Linked DNA regions of Homo sapiens: region 1 is linked to region 2. The links are contacts of gene promoters, found by promoter capture Hi-C in human tissues and cell types (Jung and others, 2019). All regions are on one chromosome and are shown on one strand. Each heading gives the region's core, a stretch centred on a gene start or on the middle of the fragment in contact. The rest is flanking DNA. Distances are from core to core; before and after follow the strand shown.

Region 1 (5,446 bases), core at 1,708-4,207, 44 kb after region 2:
TTCAATTTGGCCTACAGCCCTAAAAAATAAGTGTGTCTTGAAGACACAAACCTTAAAGCTGTGAATGGAGACTTTGAAAAGTATCTAGTTGAGCCCAGAAATGGAAGTAGCAGAATGCTATTGACCTAGTTGTACCCCAAACACTGAAGTCTCATTAATACCTAAAAAGCCTGAGCCAGCTTTTTCTTTCTGTGTTTACCTTCATACCAATTACATAATAAAGTCATTATGGAGCACAGCGTAGCTTGGTTTGAGGCTTGTGTGAGCTGTGGCTGTCAGCCCCGGCATATATTCCTTAAAATCCTTAAAGAAGACAAGTGATTTATAAAATACTTCCCATTGCCTGCCATATATCATAAATGGCATTTAAAAGGACAATTTCAGTTAGGTTCACAAACTCTTTATTGGAGGGAGTTAGCATTTCTCAAATTTGTTGGGATGGTTACAATTAAGGAAAGGATAGCTTTCTGTTGCCATGGAGATTAATGTGTCAGTAACAAGCCATACTGACGGGTGCCTGTTGCTCAAGCTGGCACAGACCCTTGTTCCCTCATCATCTCTGGATACCATGGGAAATCTTCAGTATTTTGGAGTCCTTGAGGTCTGTTTGTGAATAAATGCTACCTGTGAGTGCCATGTGGTGGATGGTGAGTCTATAACAGCTGCAAATCCTTTGTCTGACAATGTCACCAACACTTCTCACTTCTGAAAACCTCAGCTAAGCAAAAATATGGGCACAGCACACAAGAGGCAAGACAAACAAAATCTGAAATGTCACTTGTTAAAAGTGTTCTGAGATTTTGTTAATTTATATCTATTGAAAAACAGAACTCTATGCCACTGCATGCACAAAACCCCCAAAGGACCAGAAGTAATACAATGTCTATGGCATGGGCTCAGGAATTTATTATTATCATCGATCCTCTCTTCCAACCATGCTCTTCACTTAATAGAATTACGGTACAACAGACCCCAAATCCTCTTGCTGTGGGGATAATACGTAGGAATTAAGAGCAGAGCTCTGGAATTAGATTGGGTTTGACACTCACTTCCAGAACTTCCTAAATGTGTGACCAGGGCAGGTTAGACTTGCCAATCCTTCAGGATCCCTGTAAAAGAGGGATAATAGTAGTCTCTGCTTTCTAGAGCTGTGTGAGGATTAAATGAAACTAGGTGAATTTATGTCTAGCATGTAAACACTCAACCAGTGATCACTTTAATAACTGTCGAGACAAGCTGGGTGGAGGAAGGGAGAGGGAATGGGTTCTTCTCATTTTGTTGTTTGGGAGGAAGAAAGAGTCTTGGGTTCTAAATCTGGAGACTTTGGTATTAGTTCTGCCACAAACTGGCTGTATGACTCGGGGTAAGTTAACTTCCTTAGAGCCTGTTCCTTCATATATCAAACAAGATAAAAGCCAACACGGGCCAGGTGTGTGTGTTGCAATGCATGTAATTAATTTTTTCTTCGTTTACACACAGAGAAGCTGAAACTCAAGGAGGTTAAATTCTTGCCCCAAGGCACAAGACAAGTTCATGGCAGGCCAGTACTCATCCAGACACCTGGCTCCAAAAGCCAGGTTTGGGGCCATCAAACTTGGCCATTCACATCTATGTTCAACATCACAGACCCGGTCTCAGCATATTTGTGGAAAAATAAAGGAGACACAGGAAAAACGGAGGAAGGAGATTCGAGTCCACGATGCCATTAAGTCAGGGGCTGAGTTCCTTCTGTGGGAGGGAGTTCCAGCTCTGAGCAGACTCCTCCTAAAAGTGGGGCTTTTCCTGCTTCACCCAAGGGCAGGCTGGAGATTTCTATGCATCTGAGATTGGGCCCAGACAATGACAATGTCAATGTCAGCAGACTCCCCAATGAAGGTCAGTGGATACAAAGGATTTCTAAACTGATAATGTCGGTCAGTAGAAAATGTGATTCTATTTGCTTAATGGTTACACACACCCTTTCAGGTGCACAGGTTAGCAAGAGTCAGGGTCCTCTAGTAAGAGTCTATTCTGGGGCTGGGTGCGGTGGCTCACGCCTGTAATCCCAGCACTTTGAGAGGCTAAGGCAGGTGGATCATTTGAGGCCAGGAGGTGGAGACCAGCCTGGCCAACGTGGTGAAACCTTATCTCCACAAAAAATACGAAAATTATCTGGGCATGGTGGTGCATGCCTGTAATCCCAGCTACTTGGAGGCTGAGGCAGGAGAATTGCTTGAACCTGAGAGGCAGAAGTTGCAGTGAGCCGAGATTGCACCACTGCACTCTAGCCTGGGCAACAGAATGAGACTCTGTCTGAGGACTAAGCTCTGATTTTTTTTTTTTTTAAATCTTGCCCAAATTCCTATCTAAGGGGTCTGAGGAATCATGCCCTACAAGCCATAAATTCTAATTAGATGGGTTTTAGTTAACCCTGTATATAGTGACTTTCCAATCTGACTCTGGCATAACAAGGAAGAAAATCAAAATGTTTTATCCCAAAATATATTTTCTTGCCATACTTTGAAATTGCCCTGCAAAGTCTCTTGTGGGAAAAATCCATATTCTGTAGAGAATCTCCTCTCCCCTTTGTTTTCCTTCCTTCCTTTCTGGTTCCAGGAGATAATCAACTAAGAGCCAGGGACCGTTCTAATTCCAATAAGAAACATTTTACAACCTGCTCTCTCTGAAGTCTGCTATCTGAGAGCTTCCTTTGCGCAGTAAAACTTGGTCTCCACAATCCTTTATCTCATCCCAAACATTTCTTTTCTGTTGATCCCAGGTCTTCAGATAAACTCAACCAATTGTCAACCAGAAAATGTTTAAATTTACCTATACCCTGGAAGCCCCTGCTTTGTTGCCCCGCCTTTCTGAATCAAACCAATATATTTCTTAAATCTATTTGATTGATGTCTCTTGCCTCCTAAAATATATAAAAGCAAGCTGTACCCCAATCACCTTGGGCACATGTTCTCAGGACCTCCTGAGGGCTGTATCACAGGCCATGGTCACTCATATTTGGCTCAGAATAAATCTCTAAAAATATTTTACAGAGTTTGACTCTTTTCGTCAACACATCTCAAAAAAAAAAAAAGGAAGCTACTCTGAGTGGCTTTGGGTTTTTAGCTCTGTGGACGAGTGAGGGTGTCAAAAAGCAAAACTGACAAAAAGAGAAATGACACCGGGATAGTTGGTAAACATAGCGCTTTAAAGCCACCTGGAGCCTTCAGGTCATGGGCAGTCTCAGCCTTTGCTGAGCTGGTCATGTTGTCATGGAGCTGACAAAAAAAAAAAGTGGAGGGGAGAGAGAGGAGCAAAAGGGCCGGCAGTGCCCAAGTGTAGTTCTAAGAGAAATGATTTTCAAGTTCAAAGTGCTCCCAGCTTTCTTCATCTGTAGAGTGCTCATTACATCACAGAGTAAACGATGACAAAATAGCTAAGCTCTGATTCGATCAGCTTTCTGTACTTCCTGTAAATTTCCTGCAGGGTCTTGTCCTCTTCATTCGTCTCATATCTGTTTGTATAAATTCTCGCCTGTGCCAACAGAGAAATACATCCACATATGAGCACGCACACACGCACACACACACACACATACACACACACACACGGTGACTACACTTTTCAGGGCTTGACAGCAACTTAAATGATCTACACATACAGTTGTTGAATCAGGAAAATATGTTGGCAGAATCAGAAAAAGACCAAACCCAACTACTAGAAAAGAGAGCTCCAGATTCCCTTCTTTGAAACTGCTGATTTTCAATGAACAGATGATTGTCCCCCACTGCCTTATTCAGCCCTTCGTTCCAGAGCAGAAGCACCATTCCTGGATGCCCCCACTCTACGCCGTGGAACCAGCCTGGGGACCTCTTACCTTGAATACACGCAGGGCACACTGCCGTTCTTTCTGACTCTTCAGGATCCGCTCCACAAAACTAACATCAAGGAAAGCCCAGATTTTGAAGTAAAACAACTTCCTGCAGGATATGATGAGGAGGTGCAGCTCCTCGTCGAGTGACTCATGGTTGTTGTTGAATTCACAAGTTAATTTCTGGAAGAGCACCAAAAGGGAAGATGTGTGTGGGCAGAGATGCTGAGCCTGGCTGAGTTGTTCTGTAACATTTCCACGACCTGGCTCTGGGCCTGATAGCCATGATGATTTGGGGGTTTTTAACTTTAATTTTTAATTTTTGTGGTACATAGGTACATATATTTATGGGGTATATGGGATATTTTGATGTAGGCATACAATGTGTAATAATCACAATGGGGTAAATAGAGTATCCATGACTTCAAGCATTTATCCTTTGTGTTACAAACAATCCAATTATACTCTTTTAGTTTTTAAAAAATGTACAATTAAATGATGATTGACTATAGACACCCTGTCGTGCTATCAAATACTAGATCTTGTTCATTCTTTCTAACTTTTTTTGTACCCATTAGCCATCCCCACTTCCCTCTGCACCCCCTACTACCCTTCCCAGCCTCTGGTAAGCGTCCTTCTACTCTCTATCTCCATGAGTTGAATTGTTTTAATTTTTAGCTCCCACAAATAAGTGAGAACATGCAAAGTTTGTCCTTCGGTGCCTAGCATATTTCACTTAACATAACAACCTCAGTTGCATCTATGTTATTGCAAACAACAGAATCTCATTCTTTTTTGTGACTGAATAGTACTCCATTGTGTACATGTACCACATTTTCTTTATCCATTGATGGACACTTAGGTTGCTTCCAAATATTGGCTATTGTGAACAGTGCTGCAATAAACATGAGAGTGCAGACATCTCTTTGATATATTGACTTTCTTTCTTTGGGGTATACACCTAGCAGTGGGATTGCTGGATCATATGTAAGCTCTATTTTTAGTTTTTTGAGGAACCTCCAAACTGTTCTCTACAGTGGCTGTACTACTTTAAATTCCCACCAACTGTGTATGAGAATTTCCTTTTCTCTACATCCTTTCCAGCATTTGCTATTGCCTGTCTTTTGAATAAAAATCGTTTTAACTGGGGTGAGATAATATCTCATTGTGGTTTTGATTTGCATTTCTCTGATGATCAGTGATGTTGAGCACCTTTTAATATACTTATTTTGCCATTTATATGTCTTCTTTTGAGAAATATCTGTTCAAGTCTTTTGCCTATTTTTTAATTGGATTACTATTTTTTTTTCCTATAGAGTTGTTTGAGCTCTGTATATTCTGTTTATTTATTAATCCCTTGTGATATGGGTAGCTTACAGATATTTTCTCCCATTCTTCCTGTGGGTTGTCTCTTCACTTTGTTGATTGTTTCCTTCATTGTACAGAAACTTTTTAACTTGATGTGATCCCATTTGTCTATGTTTGCTTAGATTGCCTGTGCTTGTGGGTATTGCTCAAGAAGTCTTTGCCCAGTTCAATGCCCTGGAGAGTTTCCCCAATGTTTTCTTGTAGCAGTTTCATAGTTTGAGGTCTTAGATT
Region 2 (5,236 bases), core at 35-2,534:
GTATAAAGTTGGCCCTTCCTATCCGTGGATTCTACATCCTTGGATGCGATGACACACAAATAAAAAATATTCAGGAAAAAAATTCCACAAAGCTCCAAAAAGCAAAACTTGAATTTGTTGCACCCTGAGTGCTATGTTGAATCCATGCGAATGAAGCGATGAGTAGGCATGGTTAGACATTGTATTAGGTATTGTATTAGGCATTGTATTAGGTATTATATTAGGTATTAGGTGTTGTATTATGTATTGTATTATGTATTGCATTAGGCACTGTATTAGGCACTATATTAGGTATTGTATTAGGCATTGTATTAGGTATTGTAGCAATCTAGAGATGACGTAAAGTATGCCTATCTAGGGATGTGCGTAGGTTATATACAAATGCTACACCACTTTATATGAGACTTGAGAATCTGCAGATTTCAGTATCTGAGGGGGATCCTGGAGCTAATCACTCTATGGATTATATGCATAATCCACAGGGAGGACTATATGTAAGGAATGGGGGTGTGTGTTAATTTCAGGTGGGTCGTTAATCTAAAGACTTGAGTCTTTGGCTCAAGTTATCTCTCTCTCACTTTCACAATTGTTTTGCCATTCTCTCTCTTTTTTTCTTTCCTTCTGGAAGTCCTACTTGACAAATATTAAATCTTCTGGAGCTATCCCCTCAGATTTAATTTTTCTCCCATATTTTCCATCTCCTAGTGGATGCAGAGTGACTTCTGGAGTGTTTGCCTGAAGGCGTTCTACTCACACACCTGCCCTCACAGAGTGCCCCATCGGGCGCCCCACGCAGAAATAAGCCAGTTGTGGTAACAGACCTATACAAACTCTGGAGGAAACTCATTGTAGCTTACAGAAACAATCAACTTGGCTTCCTGATTTTTAACCCTCAATTTCGCCTGCGACTGCGAGGTCCTGGAGGCATCGCCCAGCCCAACCCCACTGTACAGCCGGGAAGTCTGAGAGCCGGGGTACAGCGCGACCCGAGATGATCCCGCCCGCGGGAGGGCTCGGACTAGACGCAGGTCTCCTGACTCCCAGCTCGGGGCTTTGGCCGCTGTCTTCTGCTTGGTGCCCCGCGTCTTCGCGGTAGGTTGAGGTGGCCGGAGCATCTGGCCCTACCCTTCCCACACGCCACACTCCTGGGTCTCTGGCTCTGGGGTCCGCAGAATTTGCGCCTGCGCTAAGCCTTTGGCCAGGCTGCTCAGTGGCGGAACCAGCCCTCTTTGCCCTGGCAACGCGTCACTTGTTGTCATGGAGACCGCGTTGTTTACCTCTCTGTTCTGCAAGAGCTGGAAGCTCCAGTTGGGGTAAGGAGGCTCCCATCCCGAGCTTGCGTAGTGGTTCTGTGTGGCGCTGAGGTAAGTAAACCATGACCCCACCCCACCGACCCCTACCCGCAACCCTCCCCGCCTAACCAAATCCTTATGACGTTGGGATGAGCCCTAATTTAGGTCCCCACCTCTCTGGGGGCTATTCAGACTTATCCAGGAGCCTTGGGTTAAATGCTGGGCTCCACACTCAGATAAATTCGGTAGAAGCCATAAAAGGGACTGGGCTAGGAAGAAACGGAGAAACTCCATGTTGTCTGAGGGGGCTGGGTGGGCTGAGGTTCTCAGCCTAGTCAAGATCTGACTCTAGTTTCATCCTTATATATGTGAAGGCTTCAGAGATCCAGAGGCCCCTAAGAGCAGGGACTCAGACCTTAGGGTAGAGATGGGAGTGGGGGCAGATTTCAGCCCTGTCTGAGGAAGGCAGTTCTCATGGTCCATCAGAGTTGTATGAAGATGAAATGGGTAATTTTAGCGTTTCCACTGCCGACAGCCTCTGCCAGCTGGCTTCCCCTGTGTTGTTCCCCTTCCTGTTCTCTCCTTTTCTTTGTCCTGGAAGTTTTCAGATTCTTTTATGTGTTGAACAAGTTCAATACCCAGTTGTCAGTTTACACATGTTACATTTCCTCCTCCTCCTCCTCCTCCTCCTCCTTCTTCTTCCTCTTCTTTTTCTTCTTCTTTTTTTAAGAAAACATCTCTGGGCTCATCTGTTTGGCAGAACATTACTCCATGACCCAACAATTCTAATGAGTTATAAAAATGCATACACGTGTTCACCAAAAGACATGTATGAGACTATTAATAGCATTCTCATTATGGCCCTGGAGTGTAAACAACCCAAATATCCATAAACAGTAGAAAAGACAGCTAGATTTTATTCATATAACGGCACCTACACAGCAACGAGAACGAACAAACTGCAATCATATAGACAATATGGATGAATTTTACAAACATAATGTTGAGCTAAAGAAGTCAGAGACAGAATAATACATACTGTATTATTCCATTTATGTTAAATTCAAAAACAGCAAAACGAATTTGTAGTGTTAAAAGTCAGGATACTGGTTACCCTGAGGGGCTTGAGGTGGAGTAACTGGGAGGAGGTTAGAGATGCTGGTAATGCTTGTTTCTTGGTTTGGGTGCCGGCTACACAGATAGATTTATTTTGTGTACAGATTATGATTTATGCAATTTTCCGTATATATGTCATCCTTGAATAAAAATTATCATAAAAAAGGACAAATTGCTTTCATTTAATCTAAAAGAGTCTGCTTTTGATCAGGAATTTGGAAACCTCAAATGGCTAAACTATTACAACCTCCACCCAAGTTCCTGCCCTCAGAGTGGCACATTGCTAACAAGAACCAGTACCACAGAGCAGACGCTCAAAGGTCCCGATCAGAACGCCTGGTCGCAGAAAGCCAGAGGCTTGTGGATGAAATTGAAAAGACCACAAGAAAATCTCAAAGCGATGTGAACAAGAAACTAGGTAAGACAACATGCTTGGCATATTCGTGAACATGCTAGGATGAGGCTGTTGAGTTTAGCTATAGTGTCATGTTCAGATGTGGCAACATATTATTTTTGAATATTAGAGAAAATCATGTGTATTCTCCAGGTTCTATGTTTAAGTTCACTGCCCTAAGATAGACACAAGGTAACCCAGCCTGATTTTCAGCCACCCATCATTCATTTATTTGTTGATTTGATGCACAGTTATTGAGCATCTATGGGCATCTATGTACTACACACTAGGCATATCACAGGGAATGATCAGAATCTCTGCTTTTTAGGGGCTTCTAACTTGAAGAGGATAAAGATACAAAAATTAATCATCAGAATACAGTCAGCCCTTTGTATCCATGGGTTCAGCCAGTTGTAGGTCCAAAATACTTAGGAAAAAAAAACAATAAAAGATTACAACAATTAAAGAATACAAATAAAAACAATACAGTTCAACAGCTATTTACATAGTATTTGCATTGTATTAGGTATTATAAGTAATCTGAAGATGATTTAAAGTATACTGGCTGGGTGTGGTAGCATGTGCTGTTAGTCCCAGCTACTTGGAGGGCTGAGGCAGTAGGATCCTGTAAGCCCAGGAGTTAGAGACCACCCTGGGTGATATACCAAGACCCTGTTTCATAAAAAAAAAAAAAAGAAAGAAAAAGAAAGGAAGAATGAAAGAGAGAAAGAAAGAAAGAAAGAGAAAGAAAAGAAAGAGAAAAGGAAAGTATATGGGAAGATGTGCATAGGTTATATGAAAACACTACACCATTTTGTATAAAAGACTTGAGCATCCATGGATTTTGGTGTCTGTCAGGGACTCTGGAACAAATCCTCTGAGGATACCAAGGGACAGGTGTATAACCAGATAGGTGCTGGGGTAGGGGAACAAAGACGGGGCGGAGTAGATGTGAAAAATTGGAAAAGTTTTTCTAGAGAAGAACATTTACTTGAGTCTTAAAAGGAGTCATTTTCTCTTGACAATTCCTTACTTAAAACAGTATTTACTTAAATTTCTTGAGACAGAGTCTCGCTCCATCACACAGGCCAGAGTACAGTGGCACAATCTCAGCTCACTGCAATCTCTGCCTTCCAGGTTCGAGCGCTTCTCCTGCCTCAGCCTCCTGAGTAGCTGGGATTACAGGCGTGCACCATCACACCCGGCTAATTTTTGTATTTTTGGTAGAGACGGGGTTTCATCATGTTGGCCAGGCTGGTCTTGAACTCCTGACCTCAGGTGGTCCGCCCGCCTCAGCCTCCCAAAGTCTGGGATTACAGGCACGAGCCACCGCACCCTGCCTAAAACAGTATTTAAAAGGTAGCGTTCTTTAGCAAAGATCTCAGGAAAGCACATTTAAAAAAAAAGATAGTATCCTTAAATAATCAAAACAAAAATAAACATAAAACAAAACAAACAACCAACGTCGGCTAAATGCCAAAAAGGGATTAACCAGGGGTAACCAACTCGACTATCTATAGGGACCAAGCAGGTAGCATAGGGATTGAATGTAAGGCATTAGGGTTTAGTAGGGACTGTGGGGACCTGGAGAACGTGTGCCCCATCTAAGGAGGAAGCTGCTACTCAGTTTCAACCCATTGCTTCCAAGAAAGAACATGAGCCCAGTGTTGCCTGATTGTCCGATTTTTTCAAGAAAATCTGGAAAGCAGGAATTTATTCACGTTTTAAATGTTGGTAACTGACTTAATTTATTTATAACACTGGGCCAGCTGAACAAACACGTTTATGGATCAAACCTGGTCTGAGGACTGTAGTTTTCTAATTTCCAGTAAATGAAACCTTCATTCAGGTCAGCAATGTTAGATGTTAGGCTCTCCTAATAGGTTGACCCTTACATTGATACCACCCTGTAGATAGGCCTGTTCTAAATAATTGTGCAAATAGGTAGGTGTTAAAAATGAGAAGGCGCCCGGGCATGGTGGCTCACGCCTGTGATTCCAGCACTTTGGGAGGCCAACGTGGGCGGATCACAAGGTCAGGAGATTGAGACCATCCTGGCTAACATGGTGAAACCCTGTCTTTACTAAAAATACAAAAAATTAGTGGGGCATGGTGGCATGCATCTGTAGTCCCGGTTACTCAGGAGGCTGAGGCAGGAGAATCGCTTGAACCAAGGAGGTGGAGGTTGCAGTGAGCCGAGATCGTGCCACTGCACTCCAGCCTGGGTGACAGGGTGAGACTCTGTCTCAAAACAAAAAAAAGAAGAGAAATCATTATTCATTTTCACAATACTCTGTTTCAGTAGATACGGGGAAAAAGTGAACCTTCATTGATTCATGGAATCATTTTAAAATTAGCCATTAGGCATTAAAAGCATCAAATATGTAGGAATAAATCTAGCAAAAGATGTGCAAGTGTTTTGCACTGAAAAATC

What was found. The method cuts DNA at HindIII sites, captures the fragments that hold promoters and counts their contacts. A contact is called where the count stands out against the background at its distance.
Region 1: a fragment that was not itself captured here is called in contact with the fragment with the promoter of TEKT1 in region 2 in 1 of the 25 tissues and cell types used here (psoas muscle).

Annotation. Positions count from the first base shown.
Region 1 is chr17:6,785,364-6,790,809 of GRCh38, reverse strand. It overlaps FBXO39 (F-box protein 39), which reads right to left. Exons shown (of 4, transcript NM_153230.3): 3 at 3,854-4,030; 4 at 3,164-3,510. The coding sequence ends at 3,382. Among named protein-coding and RNA genes, the nearest start is that of FBXO39, 12 kb to the right of the region's middle. The HindIII fragment of the contact is 9,989 bases long and covers 1-5,446 here.
Region 2 is chr17:6,827,777-6,833,012 of GRCh38, reverse strand. It overlaps TEKT1 (tektin 1), which reads left to right and starts at 1,284. Exons shown (of 8, transcript NM_053285.2): 1 at 1,284-1,364; 2 at 2,620-2,826. The coding sequence starts at 2,637. RefSeq lists a silencer at 1,272-1,321. The HindIII fragment of the contact is 13,856 bases long and covers 1-5,236 here.